4 separate regions of the Homo sapiens genome follow, and regions 1, 2 and 3 are each linked to region 4. The links are contacts of gene promoters, found by promoter capture Hi-C in human tissues and cell types (Jung and others, 2019). All regions are on one chromosome and are shown on one strand. Each heading gives the region's core, a stretch centred on a gene start or on the middle of the fragment in contact. The rest is flanking DNA. Distances are from core to core; before and after follow the strand shown.

Evidence for each region. The method cuts DNA at HindIII sites, captures the fragments that hold promoters and counts their contacts. A contact is called where the count stands out against the background at its distance.
Region 1: a fragment that was not itself captured here is called in contact with the fragment with the promoter of EIF6 in region 4 in 1 of the 25 tissues and cell types used here (IMR-90 fibroblasts).
Region 2: a fragment that was not itself captured here is called in contact with the fragment with the promoter of EIF6 in region 4 in 1 of the 25 tissues and cell types used here (aorta).
Region 3: a fragment that was not itself captured here is called in contact with the fragment with the promoter of EIF6 in region 4 in 1 of the 25 tissues and cell types used here (dorsolateral prefrontal cortex).

Annotation. Positions count from the first base shown.
Region 1 is chr20:34,899,105-34,904,288 of GRCh38, reverse strand. All of the region lies in intron 2 of ACSS2 (acyl-CoA synthetase short chain family member 2), which reads right to left. Among named protein-coding and RNA genes, the nearest start is that of ACSS2, 25 kb to the right of the region's middle. The HindIII fragment of the contact is 3,512 bases long and covers 456-3,967 here.
Region 2 is chr20:34,850,700-34,856,127 of GRCh38, reverse strand. GGT7 (gamma-glutamyltransferase 7) reads left to right here. Exons shown (of 15, transcript NM_178026.3): 9 at 1,205-1,332; 10 at 1,509-1,597; 11 at 3,590-3,739; 12 at 3,856-3,973; 13 at 4,760-4,897. Among named protein-coding and RNA genes, the nearest start is that of GGT7, 19 kb to the left of the region's middle. The HindIII fragment of the contact is 4,589 bases long and covers 1,130-5,428 here.
Region 3 is chr20:34,916,977-34,922,296 of GRCh38, reverse strand. ACSS2 (acyl-CoA synthetase short chain family member 2) reads right to left here. Exons shown (of 18, transcript NM_018677.4): 8 at 2,725-2,862; 9 at 1,588-1,758; 10 at 1,158-1,291; 11 at 835-967; 12 at 697-753; 13 at 431-511. Among named protein-coding and RNA genes, the nearest start is that of GSS, 36 kb to the left of the region's middle. RefSeq lists an enhancer at 258-1,457. The HindIII fragment of the contact is 5,456 bases long and covers 503-5,320 here.
Region 4 is chr20:35,280,308-35,286,021 of GRCh38, reverse strand. It overlaps EIF6 (eukaryotic translation initiation factor 6), which reads left to right and starts at 1,250. Exons shown (of 7, transcript NM_002212.4): 1 at 1,250-1,296; 2 at 1,530-1,641; 3 at 1,761-1,846; 4 at 5,193-5,368. The coding sequence starts at 1,535. It overlaps FAM83C (family with sequence similarity 83 member C), which reads left to right. Exons shown (of 4, transcript NM_178468.6): 4 at 1-291. FAM83C-AS1 (FAM83C antisense RNA 1) reads right to left here and starts at 771. Exons shown (of 2, transcript NR_109815.1): 1 at 707-771; 2 at 250-552. RefSeq lists an enhancer at 688-1,238 and a silencer at 1,331-1,520. The HindIII fragment of the contact is 18,620 bases long and covers 1-5,714 here.

The sequences.
Region 1 (5,184 bases), core at 962-3,461, 380 kb after region 4:
ATGTTGGCTTCTCAGTAAGGTTATCTTTGATCACCACATTAAAAAAAAAAAAATACTCCCTGCGCTCCTCTCCAGCCCCAGGTTCTCTGAATTAACATTTTCCATGAAATTTTTGTTAGTTTCTCTTTTTCTCACCTACCCAAAAGCTAAAAGTTCTTTCTTCCTCCCAAAGCCCTTTATCTCACTTTCTTTGTGATCTGTTTTTCTAGCTTTTATTATATTTATTTGGGCCTTATCTTTCCCATTATACCCTGAGCTCTTGGAGGGCAGAGATCATGTCTTCTTCTCTGTCTCCTCCAAGCACAATTGGCACAATAGGTATTCGAGGGTCATGGTTGAATAATTGAAAGACTGGTAATTGACTAATGACAGGGAAGACTGGTGCTACCCCCCAACTTTTTTTTTTTTTTTTTTTTTTGAGACAATGTCTCACTATGTTGCCCAGGCTGGTCTTAAACTCTCGGGCTCAAATGATTCTCCCACCTCAGCCTCCAGAGTAGTTGGGACTACAGGCATGCACCACTGCACCCAGCTCCCCTCTTTATATGAGAACGATAGTCATTGAATTGAAGATTTTAATTCCCTAGAACTACAAGCAAGGCACAGGATAGGAAGAAACAGCTGAGGGAAAGACTGAGTTCTTTACAGAGGAATCAGATGGAGGAGAAACAGGAGGAGAAACACCCAGGTGAGAAGAGACACCAAACCTGTTATGAGAGGAGATGAGAGGAACACTGAACTGTTTATTTTGTGGAAGAGAAGATATTGAGAGATGTGATAGCAAGTCTCAAAAATCTGTATCTTCATTGTCTCCACCCCGGTCAAGCTACCTTCATCTCTTGCCTGGATGACCACAATGCCCACCTAACTGGTTTCCCACTTCACTCTTGTTCCCTTCCAGTCCACACATCACCCAGCATGATCTGTGATCTTTTTTTTTTTTTTTTTTGAGAGAGTCTCAGTCTGTCACCCAGGCTGGAATGCAGTGGTGTGATCTTGACTTACTGCAACCTCTGCCTGCCGGGTTCAAATGATTCTCCTGCCTCAGCCTCCCAAGTAGCTGGGACCACAGGTGCATGCCACCATGCCTGGCTAATTTTTGTATTTTTAGTAGAGATGAAGTTTTACCATGTTAGCCAGTCTGGTCTCGAACTCCTGACCTCAAGTGATTTGCCTGCCTTGGCTCCCAAAGTGCTGGGATTACAAGCATGAGCCACTGCACCCGGCCACAGAATGATCTATTAAAAACATAAATTGGCCAGGCATGGTGGCTCATGCCTGTAATCCCAGCATTTTGGGAAGCCAAGGTGGGAGGATTGCTTGAGCCCAAGAGTTCGAGACCAGACTGGGCAACATAGCGAAATGCTCTCTCTACTAAAAAAAAAAAAAAAAAAAAATAGCCAGGTGTGGTGGCACATGCCTATAGTTTCAGCTACTCAGGAGGCTGAGGTGGGAGGATCACTTGAGCCCAGGAGGTGGAGATTACAGTGAGCTGAGATGTTGCCACTGCACTCCAGCCAGGGCAATAGAGCCAGACCTTGTCTCAAAATTAATTAATTAATTAATTAATTAATTAAACAACAATAAAACAAACCACAAATCAGATCATATCACCTCCTGCTTAAAACCCTTTAACAGCTTCCACTGCATATAGAAGAAAATCCGCACTCCTGCTATGCCTTGTATCCTCCCCAACTTCATCTTGTGCCATTCTCCTATTCTGCCTACTAGGCTCCAAACATGCTGGCCTTCTGACTGATAGAACATGCCATATTCTTTAACTATCTTTCCCCAACTCTTCTTGTGTTTCAAATCTCAGCTTAAATGTCACTTCCTAGTGAAGCTTTCCCTGACCACCCTAAGTAGATCAGCTCTTCTTGTTATTCATCATAACACTGCTTATTTTCTTCACAGCATTTTTCTCAAACTATACTTCTTTTGTTATTTGTTTACTTATTGTTATTGTTAATATTATTAATAGAATTAATATTACTTGTTTACTTATTATTATTTTTGCTAATTTCCTATCTTCCCTACTAGACAGAAGACAGTTTCTGAAGGCAGAGGCCAAGTTGGTCTTGTTCACTGCTGAATCCCTCATTGTCTCGTACAGAACCTTGTATATAATAGGTGTTCAGTAAATTTTTGCTGAATGAATGCATGAATCTAAAGGATCATTATGGGGAAAAGTAGACTAATGTAGTATAACTATAAATGGAAAATCTACATCAATTGGGAGAGCTCCATATTAAAAAAAAAACCTTTCTGTTAGAGATGTCCAAAGATGGAAGGCACTCCTTCAGGAGTTTCCTGACCCTGGAGATATCATGTTGAATCTGGGATTTGTAGCGATACCAAAGAGCAGCCTCCACAATATGGCTGGGGACCAAGCAAGACCAGTGTTTCTCAAAGAGTGGTCAGATAGTGTTAATAATGCAGTACCAAGTTCCCATGCAGCACAGGATTGTTCAGGTTGGGCCAGGGTAACCCTGACACCTACTTCTACTAGATTATTCTCCAGGGAGTGGGGCCTTGAAATTTTCATTGCATAAGCTCCCCATATAATTCATGGTTATTGAAGTTTGAGATGACCTTTACAGCCCTTCCAACTTTGAGATTCTTTGATTCTATAAAATGAAAAAACAATGTGAAAGAGTTCTGTGATCCATAAAGCACTGCACAATTGTGGAGCACTCAAGATATAAGTATACCCACAAGTCAATTTCCCTTTCACCAGGGAATGGGAGCAATGTACCTTGACTAATTAGCAGCCTAATGTTCCCTCTGGGTGCTTCTGCCCTAGCTGCAGTAAGTATCAAGAAGGGCTGAAGGAGGAGGTAGATGGAGGCACACCCCAAAAACTGAACCACAGATTACTCAGAATGCCAGAGGAGGGCCAGATATGGTGGCTCATGCCTGTAATCCCAACACTTTAGGGGCCGAGGTGGGAGGATCACTTGAAGCTAGGAGTTAGAGACTAGACTGGACAACAAAGCAAGATCCTGTCAAAAAAAGAAAGAAAAGAAAAGAGAAAAAGAAAGAATTCCAGAAGAGGATGGTACTTTTGAGACTCACCACTCTTATTTACCATTGAGAAACCTATGGCACAGAAATAGAAAGTGATGACCTCAAGGTTACTTACAAATTAGTAGCAACACTATTCTAAAGCACTGTTGTCCAAAATGGTAGTCACTAGCCACATATAGCTATCAAACACTAGAAATGTGGCGGAAGAACTGGATTATTTATTTTACTTAATTTTAATTACTATAAATATCAATAGTTACATGTAGCTAGTGGCTTCCATGTTGGATAGCACAGTTCTTGAGTCTAAATGTCTAGTTCAGGGCCTTCTCCTCCTAAATGACATGGCCTCCAAAAGGGGGGTATTGTTTCCAAATTCAGAATTAGCATAAGGAAAAAAATAAAAATGTAGGAACTCTGAGAACTGTGAGGTTGACAACTACCAAGGATGGAATTTTAGTGTACTTAACAGAAATTCATCATTCTGTTTGGTTTTCCCTTAGTTCCTTAGAAAAAGTTCCTTTTGAAAACACCACAGATTTCTGGTTTCAAATGATATCTAACTTGTAGACCCTAATGCAGCCTCACTCAGCTCCTGATTCAAAAACTGGAATCAACTGTCATCCTATCACCCAAATTTGGACGGGCTTTTCACCAACTCAAAACTGATGAAACTAGAGTAAATAGCCTCAATCAGTGGACTATTTATGAAATTTCTCCCTAAACATTGATTCCTCACCTATTGAGGGAGCCAGGACTGTACCGGCCAGTCTTCAAAAGGCAGTTAATGGGCCAGGTGCAGTAGCACATGCCTGTAATCCCAACATTTTGGGAGGCCAAGGTGGGAGGATCACCTGAGGTCAGAAGTTCGACACCAGCCTGGCCAACATGGCCAAACCCCATCTCTACTAAAAAAAAAAAAAAAAATTTAGCCGGGCATGGTGGCACGCACCTGTAGTCGCAGCTACTTGGGAGGCTGCACATGAGAATCTCTTGAACCTGGGAGGCAGAGGTCGTAATCAGCCAAAATTGTGCCACTGCACTCCAGCCTGGGCGACAGAGCGAGACTCAGTCTCAAAAAAAAAAAAAAAAAAAAAAGGTCAGGCATGGTCAAGGAGATACAAATCAAAATAACAATCAGATCCCACTTCACACTCACTAAGATGGCCATAATCAAACAAACAGACAGTAACAAGTGCTGACAAGCATGTGCAGAAATTGGAAACCTCATACATTGCCGGGAATATAAAATGGTTCAGCTACTTTGGAAAACAGTCTGGCAGTTCCTCAATAGGTTAAATATAGACTTACCATATGACTCAGCAATTAAACTCCTAGCTATATACCCAAGAGAATTGAAAACATACATCTACACAAAAACATGTACCCAAAGGTTTGTAGTAGCGTTATTCATGACATCAGAAAGTGTAAACAACCCAAATGTCCACCAATTGAGGAATGAATAAAGAAAAATGTGGGGCCAGGTGTGGTGACTCATGCCTGTAATCCCAGCACTTTGGGAGGCTGGGGCGGGTGGATCACAAGGTCAGGTGTTCAAGACCAGCCTGGCCAACATGGTGAAACCCCGTCTCTACTAAAAATACAAAAATTAGCCGGGCGTGGTGGCCAGTGCCTGTACCTCAGCTGCTCGGGAGGCTGAGGTGGGAGAATCGCTTGAACCCGGGAGGCGGAGGTTGCAGTGAGCCGAGATCATGCCATTGCACTCCAGCCTGGGCGACAAGAGCAAGACTCCATCTCAAAAAAAAACAAAAAAGAAAGAAAAGAAAGAAAAAGAAAGGAAGGAAGGAAGGAAGGAAGGAAGGAAGGAAGGAAGGAAGGAAAGAAAGAAAGAAAGAAAGAAGGAAAGAAAGAAAGAAAGAAAAAAATGTGATAACGTTGAGAGGTGACAGCGTGCTGGCAGTCCTCACAGCCCTTGCTCGCTCTCGGCGCCTCCTCTGCCTGGGCTCCCACTTTGGCGGCACTTGAGGAGCCCTTCAGCCCACCGCTGCACTGTGGGAGCCCCTTTCTGGGCTGGCCAAGGCCGGAGCTGGCTCCCTCAGCTTGCAGGGAGGTGCGGAGGGAGAGGCCCGAGCGGGAACCGGGGCTGCGCACGGAGCTTGCGGGCCAGCTGGAGTTCCGAGTGGGCGTGGGCTTGGCAGG
Region 2 (5,428 bases), core at 2,175-4,674, 430 kb after region 4:
GGCAGTGGAATATGAAGCAATGGAAAGAGCCTATCAGCTGGGTGCAGTGGCTCAGGCCTATAACCCCAGCACATTGGGAGGCTGAGGCAGGAGGATCACTTGAGCCCAGGAGTTCATGACCAGCCTGGGCAACATAGTGAGACACCGTCTCTATAAAAAATTTAAAAATTACCCAGGCGTGGTGGTGTACCTATAGTCCTAGCTACTCAGGAGGTTGAGATGGGAGGATTGCTTGAGCCTGGGAGGTCAAGGCTGCAGTAAGCATGATTGTGCCACTGCACTACAGCCTGGGTGACAGAGTGAGACCATTATCACACACACACACACACACACACACAGAAAAGAAAAAAGAACAAGCGTAGCGTTGGAGCTAGGAAGACCTGGGTTTGAGTACCAACTGTGCCATTTACCTTGAACAAGCTACTTCCCACTCTGAGCCTTGGTTCCCTCCTTAAAATGGAAATAATAATAGTGCCTACATCTTAGGATGCCCATAAGGATTTGATGAGATGATGTAGGAAGTTGCCCTGATCAGAGCATGCACTGAATATAGATTTTCCATTTCCCCTTCCCAGCCTGGGTTGTCTCAACAATGCTAGTACCTTGAGTGCTCTGGATTCCCCTTGTCTCTCTGTACCACAGTTTCTGGACCTATCAAATATGTGTGATAACAGTAGCCACAGTGAGGACTAAATGAGTTAATGTTAGTGTTATGCATCAGCTATTATTCCTTTGATGTCCAAACATCTAGTAACAGAATAGGAAGAGAAGGTTGCTGCTGCCAAGAAGTTTGGGGCTGGATGAGACCATCAGGAGTCATGGATAATATCCTGGCCTATGGGAGAGCTAAAAGGAGACACATGACAGGCCAGGAATATGAACATCTGGTCACCTGTTTCTGCTGTGCTCTGCTGATAGCCTGCAGTGTGACTCTGGGCAAGCCACAGCCCTCTTGAGCCTTAGTTTTCTCAAATGGCAGAGGAAACTGAAGACCAGTGTTCTGAGTTCAAGTCCTGGCCCTGCCCTTGACTTGCCATGTGAACTTGAATGAGTCTCTTTGCCTCTCAATGTTTCAGTTTCCCCATCTGGTGAGGGAGTTCAGCGCAGTGGTCTCAGTGTGTGATGGTGGAATGTGGAGATGGGATGTGGGATGTGAAGGTGCCTTGACCCCTACCCTGCCATCAGTCACTTCCTGTCCTTTCAGGCCACCTGGTTCTTAGTCCCCCACCTCCGCACACGGGCCCTGCCCTCATCAGTGCTCTCAACATCCTGGAGGGCTTCAATCTCACCAGCCTGGTATCCCGAGAACAGGCTCTTCACTGGGTGGCAGAGGTAAGGCTGACCCGTCTGCCTTTCCCTGGATTTAAGGATATTAGGAGTGGGGAGATTGGGTACTGCCATAGGGCAGGACTAAATCCCCTCCAAGTTTTCTCACACACGAAAGTCCACTGGGTGTGGGTTCTGGGAGGGGCCTGGCAGCCTCTTCCATATCCCTGCTGTATTTTCAGACCCTGAAGATTGCATTAGCCCTGGCCAGCAGACTGGGAGATCCCGTCTATGATTCTACCATCACTGAGAGCATGGATGACATGCTCAGGTGGGTCTTGGGCAGGACCTGGGGGCTACAGAGGCAGCGGTGGGTGTGGGGAAAGGGTCAGGAGAAAAGCAGCTGGTATAGCAATAAAGGCCTGAAATCCTAAGTCAATTTCAGCTCAACCCCAACTCACAACGTGACACTGGGTGCCTCTCCCTGCACCTCACCTTTCCTATCAGCACAATGAGTTGGCTTACTTCATGTGGCTCTTAAATTTTTTTGAGGCTAGCATAGCACCTATATAAGCCCATCTGCTCCTCCTTTTGAGTAGGAAAAGAAAGCTCAATACCAAACAAAAGCCAGGCACGGTGGCTCACGCCTGTAATCCCAGTACTTTGGGAGGCCAAGGCGGGTGGATCACCTGAGGTCAAGAGTTTGAGACCAGCCTGACCAACATAGTGAAACCCTGCCTCTACTAAAAATACAAAAATTAGCCGGGCGTGGTGGCGCGTGCCTGTAGTCCCAGCTAGTCAGGAGGCTGAGGCAGGAGAATCACTTGAACCCGGGAAGCAGAGGTTGCAGTGAGCCGAGATCATGCCACTGCACTCCAGCCTGGGTGACAGAGTGAGACTTTGTCTCCAAAAACAAACAAACAAACAGTCTCCAAGCAAATACTGAAGGTGGTGGTAATACAGCTTCATTAGCAACATAACATAGTAGTAGCTTGTGGGCTCTGGTGAGACTGCCTTCATTCAAATTCCAGCTTGACCCTTCGCTAGCTGTGCAGCCTTGGGCAAGTGGTTTAAACTCTCTAAATCTGTTTCTACAAGGGGGCTTGACAATAATGGTATCAACCTTGTAAGGTTGTGGTAAGGACTAAACAAAATCATACATGTAAAGCTTTGTTTGGTTGAAAATTGAATAAATGTCTTCAAGTAATCTTTGGTAACTTATTCTCTAATCAGCTATGGATAATCCAACACATAGTTATTAGGTAAGAAACCCTCAGTTGAATTTTTTTTTTTTTTTTTTGAGATGGAGTCTCGCTCTGTCGCCCAGGCTGGAGTGCAGTGTCATGATCTTGGCTCACTGTAACCTCTGCCTCCCAGGTTCAAGCAATTCTCCTGCTTCAGCCTCCCGCCTCAGTTGAATTTTTAAAAGTCTGGAGCATTACATATTGTTTCTAAGGTCAATGCAAACTTTGCTCTAAAACACACACACACACACACACACACACACACACACACACACACCTATATGAAATCTATTCAACCAGTTCATCCAGTAAATAGTTATTGAGCACTTACTCTGTGCCTTGGGAAAAAACTCTAAAAGAAAGTAAAGATCCTGACTGGATGTGGTGGCTCATGCCTGTAATCCCAGCACTTTGGGAGGCCGAGGTGAGTGGATCATTTGAGGTCAGGAGTTCAAGACCGGCCTGGCCAACATGGTGAAACCCCGTCTCTACTAAAAAAAATTAGCTAGGTGTGGTGGCAGGTGCCTGTAATCCCAGATAATCGGGAGGCTGAGGCAGGAGAATCACTTGAACCTGGGAGGCAGAGGTTGCAGTGAGCTGAGACAGCGTCACTGCACTCCAGCCTGTGTGACAGAGAAAAACTCTATCTCATTAGGAAGAAAAAAAAAATCCTCATATACAAAATCCTCCCCCAACTAAACTCTTAATAAAACTTTAGACTACAAACATTAGTTTAAATGAATCCAGTTTGTTAATTCAAAGCAAATATTTTCTGATCCATTATGCACCAGGCACTTTCATAGAAAGGATTAAGAAGTCAGATAACTAAAAGGCTCTTGATTTAAACATTAAATAAAAGTTGGTTCCAGAAAAGAATCTAAATAATACCTAAATACATTCAACAGCTATTTTCTGGGTATTTCTTATGTGCAATTAATGAGCTTCTGCACTCATAGACCTAGTAGTCCAGTGAGGGAGGTAGATTTCATCAAATAATTACACAAACACCACAAAAGTGAGGTAGGTGGGGTGTATTGAGAGCCTGTTGTTTGCTCATCTCCCACCCCTTGTCTTTTCAGCAAGGTGGAGGCCGCCTACCTCCGGGGCCATATCAATGACTCCCAGGCAGCCCCTGCCCCACTCCTGCCTGTCTATGAACTAGACGGAGCTCCCACGGCTGCCCAGGTGCTGATCATGGGACCTGATGACTTCATTGTGGCCATGGTTAGGTATGCCAGCTCAGACTCAGAACCTGGAACAAGGGATCCTCTGAACCAAGAGGGGGTGGGGGCTGGGTAGAGGTGAGGATGGGCCAGGGCTCACCCAACCCCACCTCGGCCCCCAGCTCCCTGAACCAGCCCTTTGGCAGCGGCCTTATCACCCCCTCGGGGATCCTGCTCAACAGCCAGATGCTGGACTTCTCCTGGCCCAACCGGACAGCTAACCACTCTGCACCCAGCCTGGTAGGATTTGCTTCCCTGCTTTCCTGGGGACCCTGAGGCCTATAGGTAGGAGGTGCAATGGCATGGCTGCCCCTTTCTCCCTACTTTCTCCAGAATCTTCTAGTATAAGGAAGCCTAAAGAAGAGGTTCACCTCATCCCTAGCCCTGCTAAGTCTGGGACATGGAGCCTGGTGGGTCTGAAGAACCCTTGTCCCATTCTGTCACTGTCTTACTGTGTGACCTTGTGAAGATCTTGCCCTCTCTGGGCAATTTCTTCACCTGTACAATGAGGGTTTTGGCTCCTATTTGATGTTTTGGGCATTTTCCAGCACTAGCGGTCTGTGACTATGTGAGCTTGAGCTGATGGGGCTCAGCCCTATGGTTGGGCACCAAAGAGGGACCCAAGGAGGAAGGATTTAATAATTTTTATCTAGTTAAAAATCAGCACTCTTACACCCCGCCATCTGGGGCCCCAGCAGGGCAAAGACACATAGAGATGATCAGGGTGGGGTTATCCTGTTCTTCCCCATTGCCATCTTTCTTGGCTTGGTCCTTTCTCCTGTGACCCGTAGCAGCCTCATAGCTCAGTGGATGTACTTATCACTCCCCCATCCACCCCACCCATCCAGGCACCCTACCCATTTCACAGATAGCAAACTGTTGTCTGGGAAGGGACCAGTCTCCCAGGAAAACTGGGCCTGTGGAAGATGTAGAAGAGGGAGAGCAGTTGGAAGGGTTGTGGAGGGGCCCTTTCCCGGTCTTGTCCCACCCCACCTGCCCCTTGTGGTCTCTGTCCTCTAACAACAGGAGAATTCAGTGCAGCCAGGGAAGCGGCCACTCTCTTTCCTGCTGCCCACAGTGGTCCGACCCGCGGAGGGGCTCTGTGGAACCTACCTCGCTCTGGGGGCCAATGGAGCTGCGCGGGGCCTCAGCGGCCTGACACAGGTGAGGTTTACGCCATGGTTGGCCTTTTTCAGCCGGGAGCCAAGCTGTGGCCTAGACTGCAGATGCCTGTCATATCTGTGGCTTGTTTCCATTCCTCATGCGGCAAACATGGGCTGAGGCTGTTTTGTGCCAGGCGCATCCTGGGCAATGTGGACATGGGCTGCGCTGAGTTTCTTAGTGAAAATGGAGCCCTGATGCTCCCTGTCTTTCCCGGTTGCAGGGGAAATGGCAGGGTCAGTAGATTGAAAAGTGGGGTTAGCATCTGGGTGGCCTGGGTTCTGTTAACCTCAAGTCCCATTATACCTCTACCCAGCATCTGAATAGACAACCAGCCCTCTTTAGGGTGGGATTTGAAAGGAAGGGCCTGCTTTTCTCCAGAACACCTCAGAATGGCTCCATGAATGTCTTGAGAACCTGATATATATGCCAGGCACCTATTTTGGCAGGTGGTGAGTTAACGATCTTAAGTTCTGGAATCAGACACTCCTGGGTTCCGGCCCAAGTGCTACCAATTTGTAACTGTGTGATGCT
Region 3 (5,320 bases), core at 1,981-4,480, 370 kb after region 4:
ACAAATTAGAAAATGTAGATTCAGAGGTGTTAAATAACTTATCTGAGGTCACAGAAGAGGCAGAGCTAGGATTCGAACCCAGGCAGGGTGACTCCAGATCCTACGTGATTTTCTACTATGTTATAAAGCCTCCTTTCTGTAGAATCTTTGTCAAAAGAAGATGGGACTTAGTCTTCCAGACCCAAAAAGGTACCATCAGGAATCTGAGCAACTCTTAAAACGCCCTTAGGAGACTTATGGCCCAAAAGGAAGAGATGCAGGCAAAGTATCGAGGGTCCCCTCCAGGGTCTCTCAGTGAGCAAACCTCCAACCATGAAGTTTCAGTCCTAAGCAGCTACCAGGAGAGATTAGGTTATTAACTCTAAAGCAAAGTACCCTTGGCAGACCCTTTCCCTCTCTCCTTAAAGACTCCCAAGGGCCAGGGCCTCACCAGATAACCTTCAGCTTCACCTTCCAACTCTTCCCCGGACTCATTCAGGATTGCAGGAGCTACACCAAAGAATGGGAAAGTCTAGAAGCAAACGGGAGACAGAACCCAAGAAGAGGAATGAGGCAACTCTGACTCAACTCCCAAGGGGCCCCAGAACCCCAAATTCTTCACACATGTCAGTCCAGTTCTCCACTATCTAACTAGGCCAAGTGCCCCAAGACACCATCCCTGCCTAGCCCAAGACCAGCCAGGGAAGCATCACTCACAGCAGAACCGGGTTTCATGGGTGTGGCACCAGGAAGGGGAGTCAACATGTGGCCACCCTGGGGAAGTCAGAGATGAGAAATTTGAGTCAATCTTCCCACATTGTCCCTGGGCCCCAGCCTTCTGTACCCTTCACTCACTGTCTCTGTTTGCCAGAAGGTGTCCACGATGGGGCAGCGCTGGGCACCTACCACCCGGTGGTACCATAGCCAGGCCTCAGGGTTGATGGGTTCACCCACTGTGCCTAACACCTGCAAGGATGCCCGGCTATGCCTGGGGCAGGGGAATGGGAGAGAGGAAGGCTCTGAGTACTACTGGAAGACACACATACCCAGGCTTTTCTCTTGCCCCATCCTCTATTCCAGGTCAGAGAGTTGGGACAATGGAAAAGAAGAGACTGTACAAAGGCCAGCACCCAGCTCTGAGGGATACCCACAGGGCAGCAACTGGGAAGAGGTCTCACTTGGTGACAGGCTCATCTCCAAACTTCATGAGCAGACGGATGGCTGTGGGTGCTGTGTAGAACTTGGTCACCTTGTATTTGTCCACAATGCTCCACAGGCGGTTCACGTCCGGATATGTGGGAATCCCCTCAAACTGACCCATGAAGGCTGGTCATTCCCAGTCTTTCCTAATAGTCCTTCTATTCATCCCCCTACCATTCCCTCAGGTTCAGTATTTTGCCCTTTCTGACCAACCATATCTTCACTCCCTGGCCAGACAAGCCAAGATACCATCCTAGTCAGGATACGCAACCCCCTCAGGACTTCTCTTTCTCCAGAAAACAGATGATTGTATAAGTCCCCCTCCCTCTAGACCAAGCAGCCTTGGGAGGTAGTCACCCAGGATAATCTTGTCCATCCCCCAGCTAGGCCAGGTGGCTCCCTTCTCACCAAAACACTGGTGGCACCATTGGCCAGTGGCCCATAGGTGACGTAGGAATGACCAGTGATCCAACCAATGTCTGCCGTGCACCAGAACACATCCTCTGCATGGAAGTCAAACACATACTTGAAGGTTGTGGCTACATAGAGCATGTAGCCCCCAACTGTGTGAACCACACCCTGTGGGAAGAATGGGGAACAGGTTAGGGTCTTATGCCCACCCCTACTGACCACCAAATGGAGGCTGGGCAGAGCTGGAGGAAGATCCTCCTCAGGGATTCCAGCCCTGCCAGCACCCTTTTCACAGCATCCATCTCCCTTCCATCTCCTTTTCTCCATGCTCCCATCTCATCTCCTTTATCACACTCCTGATGACACATATGTCTATCAGGCCATCATTCATACCAGCACCCTCAGATGGTATTTCAGAGCCACCCACATCACTCACACATGAGCACTCATAGCACACTCATAATAGTCCCTCTGTTGTGTATTTGTGCCCACACACTCAATTACACACCATCAGAGTGAGTGGGAAAAAAAAGATAATTCCCTTTGCTTATTCCATCCCTACCCCCATCTCTATGAAAGAGAGGCCAAAATTGTGTTTCTAAAGACTTATTGAGGGATATTCCAAAGCATATGGAGATAATTTAGGGGTGGAGTGGGCAGAAGGTAGAGTGACATAGCTTTCAAGTCAATGGAAGAAACAGTTTTCTTAAGTGTTTCCGGCTCCCATGGTGTGTGCTGGCAGAGGACTACATGTTAATAGTGTGCCAGGTGGAAGGAATTGAACTCTAAGAGTTATGGTCTTAGAAGCCTGAGAGGGATCTCTGTGCCCACCCTTGGCCTTGAGTTAACAGAATAGCTCTCCTTCAACCAAACCATGGGTGCATAGGGAAAGAACATCCATGTCAGCTGTATGAAAACCCTCCACCTGAACTGTCTCACCCTGGGCCTCACCACCTATAGATTGAGGATTTATGTCTTAATTTGATTTAGAAAAGACAATGCTACATTTCCAAAACTCAGGGTTGTAGGAAAAAAATAATTTCATTACTTGTTTCCTCAGAAACTTACTTCTTACCCCTACATAATACACACACACACACACACACACACACACACACACACACACACACTTGCCTTGGGTTTGCCTGTGGAGCCACTGGTGTACAGGATGAAGAGTGGGTCCTCGGCATCACACCACTCGGGCTCACACTCATCCCCTGCCTCTTGCATGAGCTCATGCCACCACAAGTCAATCCCTTGGTTCCATGAGATCTGCAGGGATGGGCAGGGAAGAACTGTGAACAGCTCAAGATGGGGACAAGATACACCCGTACCTTGCCCCTGGAGGGAATGAGGTGGGACAGGCAGGTAGGAGTACAGGAAGGGAGAGAAGGCCCTTCAAGGATGGAATGGAACAGAAAGAACAGGAGCAGAACCCAAGCTTACTGAGTACTCCAACCACCCTGCCATCCTACCCCCATCTCTACCCCAGAACTCCTCTCACCTGGCCTCAGGCTGAGGAGGAACCCTTGGCTGGTCCCTTCCCATCCTTCAATTCTGAGCTGAAATGTCACCTTCTTGGAAAGCCTTTACCTGAACAGTATCTGATAGATTGCTACCCCCAACCCTGCTATTATTATTGATCACAACACCATGTTTCTTTCCCACACAGTACATATTTCCTGTTATTTTGTTTAGTTGTCTACTTGATTACTGTCTCCCCATCTAGATAGCGACATCTATGAAGGAGGTGAAATGTCTTTCCTCCCGACCCCTGCCATATCTCCCAACACCTAGCAAAGTGCCTGGCACTCAGTCAATTTTTGTTGGATGAATGACTATGCACACACAGGTCTACATACATACATATGTACTTATGGGACTAGGCTCATTAGCAGGGATGCGGACACCACACAATTCAGAAATGCAAAATTAGTCAGAGCTTACAGGTGAGGTGGGCACCTGACCCTGTTAGTAGTAAAATAAGTCAACAGATCTTGGTCCAAGCACTTTTGCCTACATGTCCAGACCCAATCCACATCTGCGTGTTTCCTACCCTAGCTCTGCTCCTGCCTTTACACCACTGGTACCAATAGGGTTTCCCATAGAGACTTTTGCTTGAGGGGACAGGTTCCATTCAGCAGGAAGCTTTGCTTCAAGTTGGTGAAGAAGGACCAAGGTGGACTTCTCCCAGTAGAAGGATGTCCCCCTATGCCTTTGATAATTACTTCTGGATCTGTCATCCTGAAACTTCTCTAAATTCTCCTTTGAAACTGTTTTACTTTTCTGTCTATATCACCTCTTTGAACACCAATTTTGAGTCTACCATCTGCTGAATGAAGTTAGATCCCTTGAATTTGTCCAAAATCTTCAGTGTACTTCAATACCAGTTCTGCCACTTCCTAGCTATATGACCTTGGGCAAATCACTTTACCTTAAGTCTCTCCTTTTACAAATGAGGACAGTCATTCTTGCCTTAACAGACTCACAGGATGTGGTAAACACCAAAAGAAAAAAGTATTATCTAGTAAACATCAAGCCTTGGATTGCCCCAAGGGTAGAGGTTGGGGTGAGATGAGGAAGACTGATGAATGTCAGGAGAGACAGAGGTTAGTTCAGTGACTACTGGGAGTTAAACTTAAGAGTGTGGGGCTGGGCGCGGTGGCTCACGCCTGTAATCCCAGCACTTTGGGAGGCCAAAGTGGGCAGATCACCTGAGGTGAGGAGTGAGTTCAAGACCAGCCTGGCCAACATGGTGAAACCTCATCTCTACTAAAAATACAAAAAGTAGCCAGGCGTGGTGGTAGACACCTGTAATCCCAGCTACTTGGGAGGGTGAGGCAGGAGAATCACTTGAAACCAGGAAGCAGAAGTTGCAGTAAGCCGAGATCGTACCACTGTACTTCAGCCTGAGCGACAGAGTGAGACTCCATCTCAAAAAACAAAAACAAAAACAAAAACAACAAAAAAAACCCACAAAAACTTAAGAGTGTGATGATAGGAACTGTTTGGGGTTTGCTTTAGCTGTCACAAAGTCCTTTCATATTAATTAGATTCTTGTATGTTCAATGGCCCTGGCTGGCAGGTAGACATGATGGTGTAAGATAAATGCCATTCTCCCATTATAAGGATATATGCTAATTTGTTGTGTGCATATTTGGTTAAAAAAACTTCTGGAGTGTTAGATATATAGCTTGATAAATTAGAAAATGACTCTCTAACCACTCCGTTCTTTCTGTACCACCTGCCCCTTATGGTAGAGAATTTGAAATTTCTGGATTATCAACATCATAAAAACGACAAGCCTAGAAAAAGGAAGAAGAGAGAGAAAGCTGCCTACGGTTAGAAAACATAAGAACACACCTGATTTGGTCTATCCATATGCATCTACACATACATTGTCACATGGGTACTTTTTTTCCTGCCAAATGATCACTTGAGATGGGGGCACTAAGGTATTCAACCAGAAGTATCAATACTGCTTTGGACAAATGGTGCTGGTCTACAGCACTGTGAACTGCCACAGAACAGGCACTAAGTACATGTAAGGACAAGGCATAGTTACAACTGTGGCTCTGCAATGAGGGCACTCTTATAATCTTATTATTTCTTTTGTGGGTGGGTGTGTATATAGAGGTGGAGGGGTCAGAGTACTCCAGGTGTGGAACTGATAACTAGCACCAGGAAGCAGAGTGAACTCAATTAGCAAAGCAACCTTTGATTGTGAATT
Region 4 (5,714 bases), core at 1-2,500:
GATGCCCTAAAGAGGACTGAGTGGGTCTGAGGTGAATGAGTGAGGAAGAGCAGAGTATGTGGATACCCGGAAACACACACACACACACATCATCATTATCATCATCATCATTGTCGTCGTCATCATCTTGCTGAGTCATCATCATCATCATCATCATTGTCGTCGTCATCATCTTGCTGAGTGTCTCTTGAAGTACAGGCTGTGACAGGTTGTGGGCCATTTTCCTGAACTCACCACTTACCCGGGATAGTAAACATGATACACATCAATAAAGGCAGACTTTATTGTGAATCACAGCGCCTGGTGTATCCTGAACTTTGAGGAGTTATGGGAGGGACACGTTGGGGGAATGGGAAGGGCACCATTCAGGCCAATTATGGGGAAACCCCTGGAGGAGGGTGAATGCCGAAGGAGGAATTGGGGGAGTCCAGGGGCTCCAAGTTACCACTGTGACATTTTGAGAGAACCCGGGGCTTTTGCAGATTCTACAAAATGTGGGCCAAGTTCATCCTGTCCAAGTGTGCAGCAGGGCCCTTGGCCCCCATCACTATCCTGGGGACAGAAGTTGGCTGCTGAGTGAGTGATAGAGGCCGTGCGAGAGGCACATCGTGGAAGCCAACCAGCACCCACATCCTTGCCCACCCTGGACCCCTTTCCAGCCTTTTCCTGAGCCCCTGCTTCCTCAGTCCTCCCCTCTCTCCAGCACCTGCAGCCTGGCTGCCTTTCCGTCTCTGGCTGCGCTCTTTCTCCAGCCTCGGTCTGGCCGCACTTCTGCCTCCTGGAACTCTCTCCATGGGTAGCCTCTTCTAGTCCACCCGTCTTCAGCCCCTCATCTCATTCGTCAGCACTCCACTCCCCTGCTGGGCTCCAGACATGGACTTCTGTCCCTCAAGGCACAGCTGGACTCATCCCTTTCCCCAAACCTGCCCTTCCTCCGGCTTCATTTCCATCAATACCTCCATCATCAACCCTTCCGCGAGACACTCCTGGCCCCTCCTCTCCCTCATGCCTCACAACCGACCAGCCGGAGGTCTAGGTCGATGACAGCTCCTAAAAAGCTCCTGAATGAATAATGAATGAATGAACGCGAGCAGGCTAGGCGTGGGGCCAGGCGGGGTCGCGCCCAGACCGCTCGCGACCATAGAGTCCGCCGGAGGCCGGAGGTAGAGGGGCTGGATGCGTGGCGGGGAGCGCCGGGCTCTCCCGGAAGTCTCCCTGGACGGAAGTGGAAACGGAAACCTTTTTAGGGAGTCCAAGGTACAGTCGCCGCGTGCGGAGCTTGTTACTGGTTACTTGGTAAGCTGGTGTGAGGGGAACCTGGGAGGGTCAGCTCCGGTCCTGGGTCGGGAGGGGTGGGGGCCAGAGGATTCAGGGCCGGAGGTTCTGGTGGGGGCCCAGTGGGCGGGACCCGAGGACGGAGGGGCCGGGAGGCCGAGAGGGGCGGGGTCGCGGCGGGGCCTGAGGGACGGAGGCCGGGATACTTGGGAAAGGATCCGCCGGCCTTGAACTCCCGCCTCCGCCGCCCCTAGGCCTCATGGCGGTCCGAGCTTCGTTCGAGAACAACTGTGAGATCGGCTGCTTTGCCAAGCTCACCAACACCTACTGTCTGGTAGCGATCGGAGGCTCAGAGAACTTCTACAGGTGCGGCGGGAGCCCCGGGGCTTACGGTGGCGGGGAGGCGTGCGCAGGAGTCAAGAGCTCCGGCAGTGGGAGGGTGCCGGCCCCTCTGCCCCGCCACCACCGAGTCCATGTCCCTACAGTGTGTTCGAGGGCGAGCTCTCCGATACCATCCCCGTGGTGCACGCGTCTATCGCCGGCTGCCGCATCATCGGGCGCATGTGTGTGGGTAAGGCAGGTGGAGGACGCCGAGGGAGGGAGTGGTCTCCAAGCACCATTAATTACACCCCCGGAGGGAACCCGGAGTGACCTAGGGATTCCCAGGGTATCATCTGTTATCTCTGGGCACTATAGAATCTCTCAGGCCAAGCGTCAGGAGATCGGGGCAACCCTCTAGCAAAGGCTGCTGGATAATAGTAATAACAAATAATGTAAAGTGCTTTCACTCCTGTTCTCATTCCTTCGTCACAAAGACACTAGAAGGTAGGAGTTACTGGCCTAACTTGACTGATGAGGAAGTTGAGACTTGACCTAAGTGACTCAGTAAGTTCCACACCTAGTTCCTAGTGTTGGAGAAGGATTTTTCTCTTTTTTTTTTTTTTTTGAGGCCAGATTTTTGCTCTTTCGCCCAGGCTGGAGTGCAGTGGCAAGATCACAGCTGTCTGCATCCTCAACTTCTTAGGCTCAAGTGATCCTCCCACCTCAGCCTACCAGGTAGCTAGGGCCACAGGCACGTGCCACCACACCTGGCTAATTTTTACATTTTTGGTAGAGACGCGGCCTCCCTGTGTTGCCCAGCCTGGCCTTGATCTCCTGGGCTCAAGTGATCTTCTTACCTTGGTCTCTTAAAGTGTTGGGATTATAGGCGAGAGCCACTATACCCAGCCGAGGATTTGTATCTCATCTCTCCCTGCCACTGACTGGGCAAGGTGCTTTCTCTTTCTAAGCATCCATTTCTGTCTCTGTAAAGATTAGCTAAGATATGCGGTCTTCCTGCTCAGTTACGTTGGAATCTTAAATTCCCTTTACCACATCTCTACCCTACCTTCCTACCTGTCAGCACTGTTAATTCTGGTCGTTGGTCCTTTCCTTTTTATTATTATTATTATTTTTTTTTGAGATGGAGTTTTCGCTCTTGTTGCCCAGGCTGGAGTGCAATGGCACGATCTTGGCTCACTGCAACACTCTCTTCAAGTGATTCTCCTGCCTCAGCCTCCCAAGTAGCTGGGATTACAGGCGCATCCCGCCACACCCGGCTAATTTTTTTGTATTTTTAGTAGAGATGGAGTTTCACCATGTTGGCCAGGCTGGTCTTGAACTCCTGACCTCAGGTGATCCTCCCACCTCGGCCTCCCAAAGTGCTGGGATTACAGGCGTGAGCCACTGCGCCCGGCCGGTCCTTTCATTAAGCTGGATCTGTCTTCCATTACTGCTGCCCATTGTTTCTTAGTTCTGCTCATTGAGGTCACTTTTAGAAGTCTGTTTATTTTATTTTTTTACTTTTACTTTAATTTTTAAAAATCTTAAGCCTGCTTGGGAGGTCGAGGCAGGTGGATCACCTGAGGTCAGCAGTTCGAGACTAACCTGACCAACATGGAGAAACCCCGTCTCTACTAAAAATACAGAAATTAGCCGGGTGTGGTGGCGCATACCTATAATCCCAGCTACTTGGGAGGCTGAGGCGGGAGAATTGCTTGAACCCTGGAGGTGGAGCTCACCCTGCGGTGAGCTGAGATTGTGCCATTGCATTTCAGCCTGGGCAATAAGAGTGAAACTGTGTCTCAAAAAAAAACAAAAAACAAAAAACAACAACAACAAAAACTTAAGCCTAGTGACCTCAAAGTATTTTCCTATTCAGTTAAAATACTCTGATCTCTAACCATGCCCTTAGGACTTGAAGCAAGTTCTGACAACAAGGGAGATTTTAGCTTAGTCCTTGTGTATTTTATGATGGGAGTGACCTGGAATTCAGAAATTGATTGGCGTGTATTTGTAGATTGTTCATTCTTGTTGCTGTATGGTGTGTTTTGTGTAAGTATATCACAACGTATTCATCCATTCCATCGACAGTGCATTTGGGCAGTTTTCACTTTGGTCTGTTAGGAATAGTGCTGCTGGCCGGGCATGGTGGCTCACGCCTGTAATCCCAGCACTCTGGGAGGCCGAGGCGGGCGGATCACGAGGTCGGGAGATCGAGACCATCCTGGTTAACACGGTGAAACCCCGTGTCTACTAAAAATACAAAAAAATTAGCCAGGTGTGGTGGCGGGTGCCTGTAGTCCCAGCTACTTGGGAGGTTGAGGCAGGAGAATGGTGTGAACCGGGGAGGTAGAACTTGCAGTGAGCCGAGATTGTGCCACTGCACTCCAGCCTGGGCAACAGAACAAGACTCCGTCTCAAAAAAAAAAAAAAAAGTAATAGTGCTGCTATGTTTTTTTAGTGAACACATGTACATATTTCTACTGGGTATATGATACCTAAGAGTGGCATGGCAGAGTCACAGGTTATGTGACTATTTAGTAGTAGTTGCAGATGATGCCAGATAATTATCTAAAGTGATTGACCAACTTACACTCCTGTCTCAGTATGAGAGTTCAGTTGCTCCATATATCTTTGCCAACACTTGGAATTGATGACTTGTAAAAATTTTAGTCATTCTGGCTGGGGGCAGTGGCTCACACCTGTAATCGTAGCACTTTGGGAGGTCGAGGTGGGCGGATCACCTGAGGTTAGGAGTTCGAGACCAGCCTGGCCAACATAGTGAGACCCCATCTCTACAAAATCACAAAAAGTTAGCCAGGTGTGGTGGCACGCACTTGTAATTCCAGCTACTCAGGAGGCCGAAGCAGGAGAATCACCTGAACCCAGGATGCAGAAGTTGCAGTGAGCTGAGATCGCACCACTGCGCTCCAGCCTGGGTGACAGAGTGAGACTCTGCCTTAAAAAATAATAATCTAGCCATTCTGCTATGTGTGTAGTGTTAGCTCAGTTTTTTTTGTTTTTTTGTTTTTTTTTTTTGGAGACGGAGTTTCGCTCTGTCACCCAGGTTGGAGTGCAGTGGCGCGATCTCGGCTCACTGCAAGCTCCGCCTCCCGGGTTCACGCCATTCTCCTGCCTCAGCCTCCCGAGTAGCTGGGACTACAGGCGCCCGCCACCACGCCTGGCTAATTTTTTGTATTTTTAGTAGAGACGGGGTTTCACCGTGTTAGCCAGGATGATCTCGATCTCGATCTCCTGACCTTGTGATCTGCCCACCTCAGCCTCCCAAAGTGCTGGGATTACAGGCGTGAGCCAACACGCCCGGCAGCTCAGTTTTTAAGTAGCAAAATATACAGCTAATGCCAAGAGCTCAGCTTCCCTCCCAGTTGGTGATGGTGAAGTAGGCAGGATTTATTGGGATTCCTGGGTGGTCTCTGGCCTGCCCTGGGTGTTTTCCAGATCAGTGGGTTGGAGGGCTGGGCTCTGGGCCTAAAGCTTTCCTGGGAAAGCTGATTGGGCTGGGCTGAGTGGTATCCTCAGCCCCTAGGGCTCAGCAGGCATCTTGTGTATTCACCCTCTAATTTGGGTTTCTCCAGGGAACAGGCACGGTCTCCTGGTACCCAACAATACCACCGACCAGGAGCTGCAACACATTCGCAACAGCCTCCCAGACACAGTGCAGATTAGGCGGGTGGAGGAGCGGCTCTCAGCCTTGGGCAATGTCACCACCTGCAATGACTACGTGGCCTTGGTCCACCCAGACTTGGACAGGGTGAGGCAGCCCAACTTGACCCAAGAGTCACAGGGCCATCCTAGTCAGTGGTTAGCCACTGTTCTTTCCCAACAGGCAGCAATTAGGGGTCTCTCCTGTGGTTTTTCTATATGGGCTCTTGAGTTTCAGGTACTCATTGGAATAGTGATAACAGAGGCCTTATCAAGTGTCAGAAAGAAGCTGGGGAGGGTATGAATCCTTCATGATTGGGGAGATTGAACCATCCAGTCCTGCATCCTGGGCCAGGATAGGTGATTGACTGTTGAACTTTTGACTGTGGGTGAGAGGGGAAAGAAGTGATATTGAGACCAGCCTCCAGCTGTTCAGGGCATGCATGAATATTAGG